Linked DNA regions of Homo sapiens: all the other regions are linked to region 2. Evidence: promoter capture Hi-C in 16 types of primary human blood cells and fetal thymus (Javierre and others, 2016). All regions are on one chromosome and are shown on one strand. The core of a region is centred on a gene start or on the middle of the fragment in contact, and the rest is flanking DNA. Distances in the headings are between cores, read along the strand shown. Region 1 has its middle 5.2 kb from the start of PKP3. Region 2 holds the start of SCGB1C1 (secretoglobin family 1C member 1). Region 3 has its middle 19 kb from the start of IFITM3.

The links. The method cuts DNA at HindIII sites, captures the fragments that hold promoters and counts their contacts. A CHiCAGO score of 5 or more calls a contact.
Region 1: a contact is called between a fragment that was not itself captured here and the fragment with the promoter of SCGB1C1 in region 2, in 4 of 17 cell types (endothelial precursors, naive B cells, M1 macrophages and 1 more). The highest score is 6.2, in endothelial precursors.
Region 3: a contact is called between a fragment that was not itself captured here and the fragment with the promoter of SCGB1C1 in region 2, in 2 of 17 cell types (M0 macrophages and M1 macrophages). The highest score is 6.1, in M0 macrophages.

Annotation. Positions count from the first base shown.
Region 1 is chr11:386,752-391,236 of GRCh38, forward strand. No RefSeq gene overlaps it. Among named protein-coding and RNA genes, the nearest start is that of PKP3, 5.2 kb to the right of the region's middle. The HindIII fragment of the contact is 255 bases long and covers 1,126-1,380 here.
Region 2 is chr11:190,778-194,610 of GRCh38, forward strand. It overlaps SCGB1C1 (secretoglobin family 1C member 1), which reads left to right and starts at 2,301. Exons shown (of 3, transcript NM_145651.3): 1 at 2,301-2,377; 2 at 2,935-3,134; 3 at 3,641-3,798. The coding sequence starts at 2,323. The coding sequence ends at 3,673. The HindIII fragment of the contact is 15,974 bases long and covers 1-3,833 here.
Region 3 is chr11:338,093-342,145 of GRCh38, forward strand. No RefSeq gene overlaps it. Among named protein-coding and RNA genes, the nearest start is that of IFITM3, 19 kb to the left of the region's middle. The HindIII fragment of the contact is 759 bases long and covers 1,767-2,525 here.

The DNA of each region.
Region 1 (4,485 bases), core at 3-2,502, 190 kb after region 2:
ACAAGAACTCAGGCAAAGGTGCTCCTGGCCACAGAGGTTTCTGGCCAGAAAAGCAACACCCCAAATATCCCACAACATGTTTGGGGGCTCGTCTGGGATCTGCACAAGGGTAAGTAAAAGTGGATCTTCTCTTTCTGTCCTTTCTTCGTGGTCCTTAAACTCAACAGCTAAAATGAAAGAAAAATACCAGGCCTCTGTCAATTAGTTAAAAGTGACGACTAGTCTCCAAGCACCAGACTCAACACATGGAGGCCAGGCTTGCTGGGGAGGACACTGTCAAGCCCCCATCACCCTCAGGTATTGGGAATGTTGGCTTTGTTCCAACCCAGTTTTCCTTCATGGAGGTCTAGCTGTCACGTGGGACCAGAAGGAGGTCCTAGAGCAACTGGGGGTATTTGGCTGAGGTTACCCCTTGGAGTTATCCAAAGGCCCCTGGACTGACTCCAGTCCCCAGCCTCCCATGAGGGTGTTGGCACAAAGACCTCCACTCTTTCCTATCATTCTTTTCTGTCTTTCTTTTGTGGCTGTCATGGTTCCTATCTCTTCTTTATGTACAATGTTAAATGTTAAGGATGTTGTTGCAAACCAGAAATATTACTGGGTAGAATGAGCATTTGACTGAGTCATCAAAACTATAAAATGGAAGGTTAAGAATAGCACAGACGAAGTAAAGTGTGCCTTGGTATCTGTATGTAAATTTGTGGCAAAAATGTTCTTGTTATTTCCTTGGCCGCCAACTTGGTGCCAAGCACCTTGAGACCCAGAAAAGAAGCATGGTCTCAGGAAGGAAGCTTTTCTGTAAACGTGAGACCCAGAAGAGAAGCATGGTCTCAGGAAGGAAGCTTTTCTGTAAGTGTAAGACACAGAAGGGAAGCATGGTCTTGGGAGGAAGCTTTTCTGTAAATGTGAGGGCCAGTGATCCCAGGCCTCGTGTGTGCAGGCTTTCTTTGCCTTGCAGGGTAACTTGGACCTTTGCCTCTACTGTAGGATTGATCCAGCCCTCCTGGTGGCCATCTCAGGAGAGGCTGCAAGAGGCAATCCCAGGGAAATAGAGAAGCAAACCCCAGAGGCACCTCCAGTGGAGGAATCAAACCCTTCACTCCTCCCTACTCAGGTTCTCTCTCAAGCTTTCCCCAGCCTAGAAATCCTCATTTTAGGCCATTCTGAGTCAAATTAAGGGGGATCTTGGCAAGTTTTCAGATGGCCCTGACAGATACATGGAGGCTTTCCAGAACTTAACCCAAGTATTTGAGCTCTCCTGGAAGGATATCATGTTACTTCTGAATCAAACCCTGACTGCTGAAAAGCAGGCCACCCCGCAAGCGGCAGAGAATTTGGGGGATGAGCTGTATATCTTATATAGGGCCAGGGAAGAAGAGAAGCTTTATCCAATTGGATGAATAGCAGTACCATTGGAGGACCCTAAATGGGACCCCAGTGATAAAATGGGAGAATGGAGGATGAAACACTTTCAGATGTGATACTGGAGGGCTTGTGAGGGAATGGGACTGGGCTTCTCATTGCACTTGGCTGGAGGGCTTATGAGAGAAAGGGGCTGGGCCTCTTGATTGCACCAGGCTGTCCATGGTAGAGCAGGGATTGGCCCCACTGCCTTCCTGGGGGATGGCAGGGGCCTTGGTGAAGTGTGCCTCTCTGTCTCCTGACTCAGTCAATGAACGGCTGGTCCTAGGGGATGAGGAGATGAGTTCATTGCACAGGCGGCCCCTGATGTCAGAAGGAGGATGCGGGAATGGGCTGTGGGACCAGATGGTACTTTGGGGGCATCCTGGGAGGGGCCACCTCAGTTTTTTCCAGTGGGAACCGGGAGGAAGTCCAGAAAAGAGAGAGGAGATATAGGAAGAAGGCAAAGGCTCTTAACAGCTGCCCTGTGGGCTCATGGACCCCAGGATCCCTAGATACACCTGTGACTGCTGCAAATGTGTTGGGCTAGGGCCCCACAGGAGGGTTTCCAGACAGTGCAGGGAGGAGGGTCCTTCATGAGGGTTTCCACACAGTGCAGGGAGGAGGGTCCTTCAGGAGGGTTTCCACACAGTGCAGGGAGGAGGGTCCTTCAGGAGGGTTTCCACACAGTGCAGGGAGGAGGGTCCTTCAGGAGGCTTTCCAGACAGTCCTGGGAGGAGGGTCCTTCAGGAGGGGCTTTCCAGACAGTGCAGGGAGGAGGGTCCTTCAGGAGGGGCTTTCCAGACAGTGCAGGGAGGCCACCTTGACCCTGTCCAGTTTGCCTTGGGGACTGTAGGGTCCAGCCCTACGGGGCTTAGTGGGTGTTCTCCCCATGTGCGGAGACCAGAGATTGTAATAAATAAAGGCACAAGACAAAGAGATAAAGAGAAAGCAGCTGGGCCTGGGGGACCACTACCATCAAGACGCGGAGACCAGTAGTGCCCTGAACGGCTGGGCGCGCTGATATTTATTGCATACAAGACAAGGGGGCAGGATAAGGAGGGTGAATCTTCTAAGTGATAAGGTGAAGCAAGTCACCTTACGGTGACCCTTCCCTCTTAGGTAGCCGAAGTAGAGAGGAAAGGCAGCATACATCAGTGTTGTCTTCTATGCAGTTATAAGAACGATCAAAGACTTTAAGACTTTCACTATTTCTTCTACCGCTATCTACTACGAACTTCAAAGAGGAACCAGGAGTACGGGAGGAGCATGAAAGTGGACAAGGAGTGTGATCATTCAAGCACCACAGGGAGGGGGTTAGGCCTCCGGATGACTGCGGGCCAGGCCTGGAGAATATCCAGCCTCCCACAAGAAGCTGGTGGAGCAGAGTGTTCCCCGACCTCTCCAAGGAAAGGAGACTCCCTTTCGCGGTCGGCTAAGGAACGGGTGCCTTCCCAGGCACTCGCGTTACCGCTTGACCAAGGAGCCCTCAAGCGGCCCTTATGTTGGCGTGACAGAGGGCTCACCTCTTGCCTTCTAGGTCACTTCTCACAACGTCCCTTCAGCACCTGACCCTATACCCACCGCTTATTCCTAGGTTATATAGTAATGGAACAAAGAGTAATATTAAAAGCTAATGACTAATAATGTTTATAATAATGATTGATAATTGTCCATGAGCATCTCTATATCTAATTTGTATTATGACTATTCTTATTCTATTTTCTTTATTATACTGAAACAGTTTGTGCCTTCAGTCTCTTGCCTGGGCACCTGGGTCATCCTCCGCCCACAGGGGACCGCTGGAGGACAGACCATCCCTGGAGACGTGGGTTGCCGGACCTCGGGCCAGTCTCCCAAATGGTACAGCAGGACTGATGGGTCCCCAGCCTCCTCTCCCCAGCTACAGTCGTCCAGACCACCATTGCCATCCAGGAACCCCAGGGATTGTAGGGGTCAAGGGAAGGAGGATGGACCTCGTCCTGGACTCCAGAGTTCTCCTCTCCAATCTGGGCCCCCCTCCCCATCTCTTGGCACAACTGTGAGTGGCATCTCAGGCCTCCTTCCTCCACCATGTCAGGAATCAACACAGTCTTGTGAATACAGGGACCTCTCCATGGAGGGGTTAGCTTTTTTCCTTTCAGAAGGCACCTTCTTAGGCCAGGCCCCCGATTCCCAGGACTTCCCTCCTCCGCCTTGTTTGAGGAGGACCTGGCCCCACAGCGCCACCTGTTTATAACAGGAAAGCAACAGGAGCGGCCGCCACCTGTTAGCAGCTGCAATTTGGTGAGGAACACTTGGGGCTAACTGAATGGGTCCACACACCGTCCTGAGGCCAGACCCCAGGAGAACCCCCGGGAGATGCCCCGCCTGCCTCAGACAGACGCCCCCTTCCCCAGAGGAGCGCCGGGGTCCTGAGGCCAGACCCCAGGAGAACCCCCGGGAGATGCCCCGCCTGCCTCAGACAGACGCCCCCTTCCCCAGAGGAGCGCCGGGGTCCTGAGGCCAGACCCCAGGAGAACCCCCGGGAGATGCCCCGCCTGCCTCAGACAGACGCCCCCTTCCCCAGAGGAGCGCCGGGGTCCTGAGGCCAGACCCCAGGAGAACCCCCGGGAGATGCCCCGCCTGCCTCAGACAGACGCCCCCTTCCCCAGAGGAGCGCCGGGGTCCTGAGGCCAGACCCCAGGAGAACCCCCGGGAGATGCCCCGCCTGCCTCAGACAGACGCCCCCTTCCCCAGAGGAGCGCCGGGGTCCTGAGGCCAGACCCCAGGAGAACCCCCGGGAGATGCCCCGCCTGCCTCAGACAGACGCCCCCTTCCCCAGAGGAGCGCCGGGGGCATAGCAAGAGCCCGGGACTCGTCTGATGAACGAACAAGTAGTGGACGGACAGATGGACAGACTGACCAACAGGCCGGCAGTGGACGGGGTGTGTGCAGATGAAAGGTGTCCCCCCCAAGAGCCTACAGGGGCCATACCCCTCAGCTACTTTCCATGCCAAGGACCAAGGCCAGAGACCTCAGAGCTGCCCCAGCCACAGGCGCGGGGCAGGGGCCACACTCCACAAGGTGAGGGGTGGTGCCCAT
Region 2 (3,833 bases), core at 1,051-3,550:
TTGTACCTACTGCGCCTGCCTCTTTTGAATGTCCTTCTCTGCCCTAATCTGTACTTATGGTGCCAGGTTTCTCTTAAGAATGTCCCCTTTGGCCTTATCAGCATGTAGCTAGCAATATTCTGACATTTTTATTGCAGAGTGAATGATTGGGGCATCTTCAGAGGAGTTCTAGGGTGTTTCTTTCTGCATAGGTACCTCTTTTCCCTCCTACCCACAATTGACAAGTGCCCATCCACTCCAGCACTAGAGATGCTACTAATATGTGAATTTTTGGTGGTCCCTCCAGGTGAGCCTTCCCAGACTTTCCCTTTTCCAGGAGGCCCCCTCCTGTTCATGTCTAGCTACCTATCTACTCTAACAAAGCCCACTATCCTGTGTCTTTCCCAAAAATAGTGAGGGAACGATTAATTGGAAACCATAAGAAATGATATGGATATAGACGAAAACTTTACAACTTACACAAATAATCACTCAAAATCATCCTTACACTAAAAATGCAAAACTATACAATTTCTAGAAGAAACAATAGAAGAAAAGCTATCTGCCTTTGGGTTTGGTAATGAATTTTAACAAATGACACAAAAGGTAGATATACACAAAAGAAGTGACAGTGTGGATTTCTTAATATTTAAAGTTTATACTCTGGAAGAGACCTTGTTAAGAGAACAAAAAGACAAGCCACATATTGAAGAAAATATTTGCAAAATACACATCTGAGAAAGAATTTGTCTTCAAAATATATAAAAAATTATTAAAACTAAACAATAAGTTAAACAGCCCAACTAAAAATGCACACACATCTGAACAGACACCTCACCAAAGAAGATCTACAGATGGCAAGTAAACACATTGAAACCACAATGTGGTTACAATTGAAAACCACAATGAGATAGCACAGCTGGTCTATATCTGTTAGAATTGCTAAACTCTTTTAAAAATGACAAATTGCTGAAGGAAAAACAAGAACTCTTTTCATTGCCAGTGGAACACAGCGTATAAGACCAAAATACGCCACCCCAAAACCTAACCCTAACCCTAACCCCTAACCCCTAACCCTAACCCTAACCCTAACCCTAACCCCTAACCCCTAACCCTAACCCTAACCCTAACCCCTACCCCTAACCCCTAACCCTTACCGGTGACCCTACTGTATCCCTGACTCCTAACCAACGTTGATCCCTAACCCTAAACCCCTTACTGTAACTATAATCTTCATCCCACCCTATCCCTAGCCTTAGTGCCATCCCCCAGGCTTTTTCCAGGATGGGATTTTATGTGATTGTTTCGAATAGGTGGAAATCTCTGCTCATTTAGGAGTCGTTCAATGTAACAAGGATCTTGGTCTTCACAGAGACCCTAAACGCGTGTGGCCCAGGGCCATGTGGATGCCATCAGCCACTAGGTGGCAGCAGGGGCCCTTTGGATTTGAACAATGCAGCTCAGTCAGAGGGCTGGACTGGGACACCCCTACTCATGGTCTCTCTTGGCATGGTTTTGTTTGGTGACTCCAGGTGTCCCAACCTCCTGTGTCCATTGTAATATGTCCTGGGACCATCTCCCCCAGGGCCTTCAACCTGGGGGGTTGAACCCCAGGATAGCAACCCCAAGCCCTCCTTGCTATCCTGGCTACTGATGGAAGATGTACCTCAAGCCTGTCCCATTCCTCACTTCCTGCTGAGACCTGGCCCCAACATGGCCAGCTCTATGTTCCTCAGACCCTCTCAGGCCACCTTCTCTCTTCTAGGCACTGTCACTGGGCTTCTCCCCACCCCATAGATCCACAGCCCCCAGGTAGTCCTACAGCTGTGTCCACTCGTGCAGCCTGCACCCCCTTCCCCTACTCGGCCACCCCATCTGAGTAGTAAGGGGCCCCTGCCTGATTGGAGACCCCCAGATGCAGACCCAGATCACACAGCACACTGATAAGAGGAGGGATTCGCACCTTAAAAGAAAGGCGTGGGACCAACCCCAGATCCCACCACTCTCGGCCTCAAGGGCAGGCATGACTAGAGGCCCTTGGTGGCCAGGACCCACTGCCTTCTTCACCGATCAGTTGGCATGGCCTCTCACCAGTGTTCCCTCCTAACACACCTGTTCTCTCTCTCACACACCCTAAAGCCGCTTGCCAACCACCTGTCACACAGCCACTCCATGCCTGTTGCTGCTTGGCACCCACTGGGGGCCAGGGATGTGAACAAACCTCATCTAAGCTGGCTGCCGGGTCCTAATGGGCAGGTCCGGTCCGCCCTCTAGGAGAGGTGCTGTCCGGTGAGGCATAAAATCCCGGGATTCTGGCTGGAGGCAGCTCCTGAGACTGCTGGCATGAAGGGGAGCCGTGCCCTCCTGCTGGTGGCCCTCACCCTGTTCTGCATCTGCCGTGAGTCTGTGCCACTGGGGTTTCCAGAACATTCAGGGGTGGGGGGGAGTGGGGGGTACCTGAGAAGGTAAAATCCTGGCATCGGGCCTCTGCAGTGAACACTCCACCTGCTTCTGTCACAGAAGTGGGCAAGGACCCTGCAGAACCCGCGCCCACCCTACTCCACCCCAACCAAGGACAAAGCCCAGCTGACCCAACACCAGCCCAGTGTCTCCTACCCCAGCCCAGTCCAGCCTGACCTGACCCTTCAAGCCTCTGGTCATAATAGCCTCTCATCAGGGGAAATTTCCCCCACACCAGGAGCTTAACTTTCCTTCCCTGGTGATCCCAGGGAATGCTGAGTGGAAATTGGAGCAGCTAAGATTAAGGGGGATGTGGAGGGGTCTTCGGGCAAGGTGGAGTTGGAGGTGTTGTGGAGGAAGCCCTGGGGAGGAGAGGTGGGCATTGAAGGGGAAGGTCTGGAGACCATGGAGGTTGGAGCCCTGGGGCAGGTCCAGGGCTGTGGTTGCACCAGAGTCACCCTGTCCTGTCCTGGCATCATCTCGCTCGTGATGCAGGGATGGCCACAGGGGAGGACAACGATGAGTTTTTCATGGACTTCCTGCAAACACTACTGGTGGGGACCCCAGAGGAGCTCTATGAGGGGACCTTGGGCAAGTACAATGTCAACGAAGATGCCAAGGCAGCAATGACTGAACTCAAGTCCTGTATAGATGGCCTGCAGCCAATGCACAAGGCGGAGCTGGTCAAGCTGCTGGTATGAGGGCGGCGGGCACCCCATTTTCTAAAGATCTGCAGCCTTACCAAGACCACCCAACACAGCACCCACACAGCCTACCCCACCCACAGACATCCACCACCCACAGACATTGCACCCGCATCAGCCAGCTCAGGTGGACACCCCAGACCTCCTGTCCACCGAGCAGCCCCCAGACTCCATAGACCTCCTCCCCAGTCTGTGGGATACTCCTCCATGCACACATGTGAACATACACAGAGATCCAAACACAGGTGCAGACATGAAATGTACACTGCGTGCACACATGTATAAACACGTTCACACCCACATGCTCACACTGGGATATGCACACACATACATGTGTGCACACCATCACATGTGCACACACACCTCCCAGCTGCTGGGAGGAGATAGGCAGCAATATGCCAGACCCCCCCCCACTGAGGGCCTTGCTTGCCTGATGGAGCTGTGGCTCTCCACTTATTGAGCACAGCCCTCTTAGTCCACATGTGTCTGCCTTCCAGGTGCAAGTGCTGGGCAGTCAGGACGGTGCCTAAGTGGACCTCAGACATGGCTCAGCCATAGGACCTGCCACACAAGCAGCCGTGGACACAACGCCCACTACCACCTCCCACATGGAAATGTATCCTCAAACCGTTTAATCAATAAAGCCTCTTCCGCAGCTCAGGCTCCTGTCTCTGCCCCCACAGAGGGGCA
Region 3 (4,053 bases), core at 896-3,395, 150 kb after region 2:
GGAGTCTTGCTCTATCGCCCAGGCTGGAATGCAGTGGTGCGATCTTGGCTCACTGCAATCTCTGCCTCCTGGGTTCAAGTGATTCTCCTGCCTCAGCCTCCCGAGTAGCTGGGACTACAGGCATGACCTACCATGCCCGGCTAATTTTTTTGGATTTTTAGTAGAGACGGGGTTTTGCCATGTTGGCCAGTCTGTTCTCAAACTCCTGACCTCAGATGATCCGCCCGTCTCGGCCTCCCAAAGTGCTGGGATTACAGGCGTCAGCCACTGCTCCCGACTAGAACTTTTAATACAGAATTTCAGATTTGACTTTGAAAACCTCTTGAGCCTAGAAAGCCATGCCATTCCATCAGACTTTTCCTGCAATACTGTATTAGTCCATTTTCATGCTGCCAATAAAGACTGAGCAATTTACAAAAGAAAGAGTTTAATTGGACTTAGAGCTTGCAGTGAGCAGAGATTGTGCCACTGCACTCCAGCCTGGGCGACAGAGCAAGACTCTGTCTCAAAAAAAAAAAAAAAAGCACACCTTCATACCTTATAATTTTTTTTTGTTTTTTGAGACTGAGTCTTGCAATCTCTGCTCACTGCAACTTCCACCTCCCGGGTTCAAGCAATTCTTCCCCCTCAGCCTCCCAAGTAGCTGGGATTACAGGCGTGCACCACCACATTCGGCTAATTTTTGTATTTGTAGTAGGGATGGGCTTTCACCATGTTGGCCAGGCTGGTCTCGAACTCCTGACCTCAGGTGATCCGCCCCCCTCAGCCTCCCAAAGTGCTGGGATGACAGGCTTGAGCCACCACAACCAGCCTCTTATAACTTTCCTTACCCAAAATTCGCCTTCCTTTGTTTGTATATTCTGCATACAGAGCTGCTTCCCTTATTATTTCTCGTAATTTTAATTACCATATAATTAGAATTCTAAACACTTAGTAACTTTAAAAGCTTTTCTTATCTTTTTTTTTTTTTTTTTTTTTTTTGAGTCAGGGCCTTCTTCTGTTGCCCAGACTGGAGTGCAGTGGTGCTATCACAGCTCACTGCAGCCTCAACCTCCCAAGCTCAAGTGATCTTCCCACCTTAGTCTCCCAAGTTGCTGGGACCACAGGCATGTGCCACCATGCCCAGCTTTTTTTTTTTTTTTTTTTTTTTGAGAGGAGTCTCACTCTGTCACCCAGGCTGGAGTGCAGTGGCGCGATCTTGGCTCACTGCAACCTCCGCCTCCCGGGTTCAAGTGATTCCCCTGCCTCAGCCTCCCGAGTAGCTGGGACTACAGGTGTCCACCACCATGCTCAGCTAATTTTTGTATTTTTAGTAGAGATGGGGTTTCACCATGTTGGCCAGGATGGTCTCAATCTCTTGACCTCGTGATCCACCCACCTCAGCCTCCCAAAGTGCTATGATTACAGGCGTGAGCTACCACACCCAGCCCAGCTAATTTTTATTTTTGGTAGAGATGGGCTGGTCTGGAACTCTTGGCTCAAGTGATCCTCCCACCTCAGCCTCCCAAAGTGTTGGGATTACAAGCATGAGCCACCACACCAGCTATTAACCTTGGTTTCTAGTGAAAACTAGCAAGTAAACACTTGTCAACTTTTTGCATACATACCAACATTCTGCAGATTGGCAAATCTGTGAATATACCATGTCATAATTTCTAGAAGTGTGTGTTTCTTTATCATACAATTTTTCAATATGGCACAGGATGTGTTTGCTGGCAGAGACAAGTATGTTTAGTACTTCTATAATAAGAAGCCAAAAGTAGACAAGCTTATGTTTAGCAATCAAAGTTTCAGTATTTTATGTTATTCAAAAAAAATAAGGTTTAAAAAATATCTTTCTAGATAGTCGATGAATAACCATCATTTAATTTAACTTGACTCTAACAGTGCAAGCTACCAAAGAGAATCGGCAAGCTGCTTTTAAGTAGATGTTTCATAACAGCAGACAAGGCTAGACATCATCAAATTGCTTTTCTTGGTGGCAACTCTTGTAACAGAGATAACATAAGTTTTTGCCTAATAAACCTAGGTAAAACCAAAGTTGTGTGTCTGCGTTTTATTTAATGCTGACAACTCTAAATATTTCATTAAACCAGAAAAGTTTAAATAGCATTTATTTACCAACTATAATCTCAGATGACATGAAATTTAAAAAACATTTGGGTTAGTTTCTATATTTCTAAGAGTTTAAGGATAACTCAACTTATATAAGCTCATATTTTTCTTTAAGCCAATTAAATACCACTTTTTTATAAATTAATTTTGGCAACGCAATCTAGAGTAGGAAAATGTCACGTGTACATGTATACATAGACATACATAAACATACAGACAGAAGCAGATCATATAGCTTTCTTTTTTTTTTTCACACTCTTCAGACACTAGAGTGTTACAGCTTCATTCTAAAATCTTAGCCACATGCCAAGCACAGTAATACAAAACACACTGTTTAATACAAGAACAATAGGCTTCAAATCTTGTTTCTGGCACATGGAACAAGTCAAAATTACTTGCCAGATGATTAAAGCTTTTATTAATATTTGCGGGAAAGACTTAAGGTTTTTCATTTGCCCAATTTCCATATAGCTCTTTTTTTTTCTTTTCTCATAAGATGGCTTCCCAAAATTTGCATATCAAAGAGATAACCCTCAGGTGTTTGAGCAGAGTAGAAAATTTACATCTCAAAGGCACAGAACTTAGACTTCAGCCTTAAATATCTTCATTTGAAGAAGAGAAAAAAAGAAAGAAATGAAAAAAAGAAAGAGAAAGAGAAAAGAAAGAAAGGAAGAGAAAAAAAGAGAAGGAGAAAGAAGGAAGGAAGGAAGGAAGGGGAAGGGATGGGAAGGGAAGGGAAGGAAAGGAAAGAAAGAAAAAAGCAAGCAAGCAAGAACAAGGAAAGAAAGAAGGAAGGAAGGGAGGGAAGGGAAGGGAAGGGAAGGAAAGAAGAAAGAAAAAAGCAAGAACAAGGAAAGAAGGAAGGAAGGAAAGAAAGAAAAAAGAAAGAAAGAAAAAGAAAAGGAAGGAAGGAAAAGGAAAGAGGAGGAAGGAGGGAAGGAAGAAAGGAAGGAAAGGGAAGGGAAGAAGGAAGGAATGAGAAAGAAAGGAAGGAAGGAAAAGGAAAGGAAAGAAAAGAAAAGAAAAAAGAGAGAGAAAGCAAGCAAAGCGCTAATTAAGCCAAGATGGGGGTCAGAAATGCACGCTAAGTAAAGGTAAGTTTTGTGATGTAGATTTAAATCAATGCTTTCTCCATTCTTTTTTTTTGTTGTTTACTTTGTTTTGTTTTGTTTTGTTTTGAGACAGAGTCTTATTTTACAACCCGGCTGGAGTGCAGTGGTGCGATCATAGCTCACTGCAACCTCAAACTGTTGGTTAAATTTCTTTGTAAAGATGGGGTGAGAGGGTTTGGATTTGTGTCCCCACCCAAATCTCATGTCAAATTGTAATCCTCAGTGTTGGAGGAGGAGCCTGGTGGGAGGTGATTGGATCATGGGGGCAGACTTACCCCTTGCTGTTCTCAGGATAGTGAGTTCTCATGAGATCTGGTTGTTTAAAAGTGTGTGGCACCTCCCCCTTCTGTCTCTTCCTCCTGCTCCAGCCATGCAAGACGTGCCCCCTTCCTCTTCACCTTCTGCCATGATTGTAACTTTCCTGAGGCCTCCCCAGCCATGTGTCCTCTTTTCTTTTGCCTTTTTTTTTTTTGAGACACAGTCTTGCTGTGTCACCCAGGCTGGAGTGCAGTGGCGCGATCTCAGCTCACTACAACGTCCACCTCCCAGACTGAAGCAATTGTCCTGCCTTAGCCAGCTGAGTAGCTGGGATTACAGGTGCACGCCACCATACCTGGCTAATTTTTGTATTTTTAGTAGAGATGGGGTTTCACCATGTTGGCCAGGCTGGTCTCAAACTCCTGACCTCAACCTGCCTCAGCCTCCCAAAGTGCTGTGATTAAGGCATGAGCCACCACACCCAGCCTAAACCTCTTTTCTGTATAAATTACCCAGACTCAGATAGTTCTTTACAGCAATGAGAGAAGGGACTAATACACCGACTCTT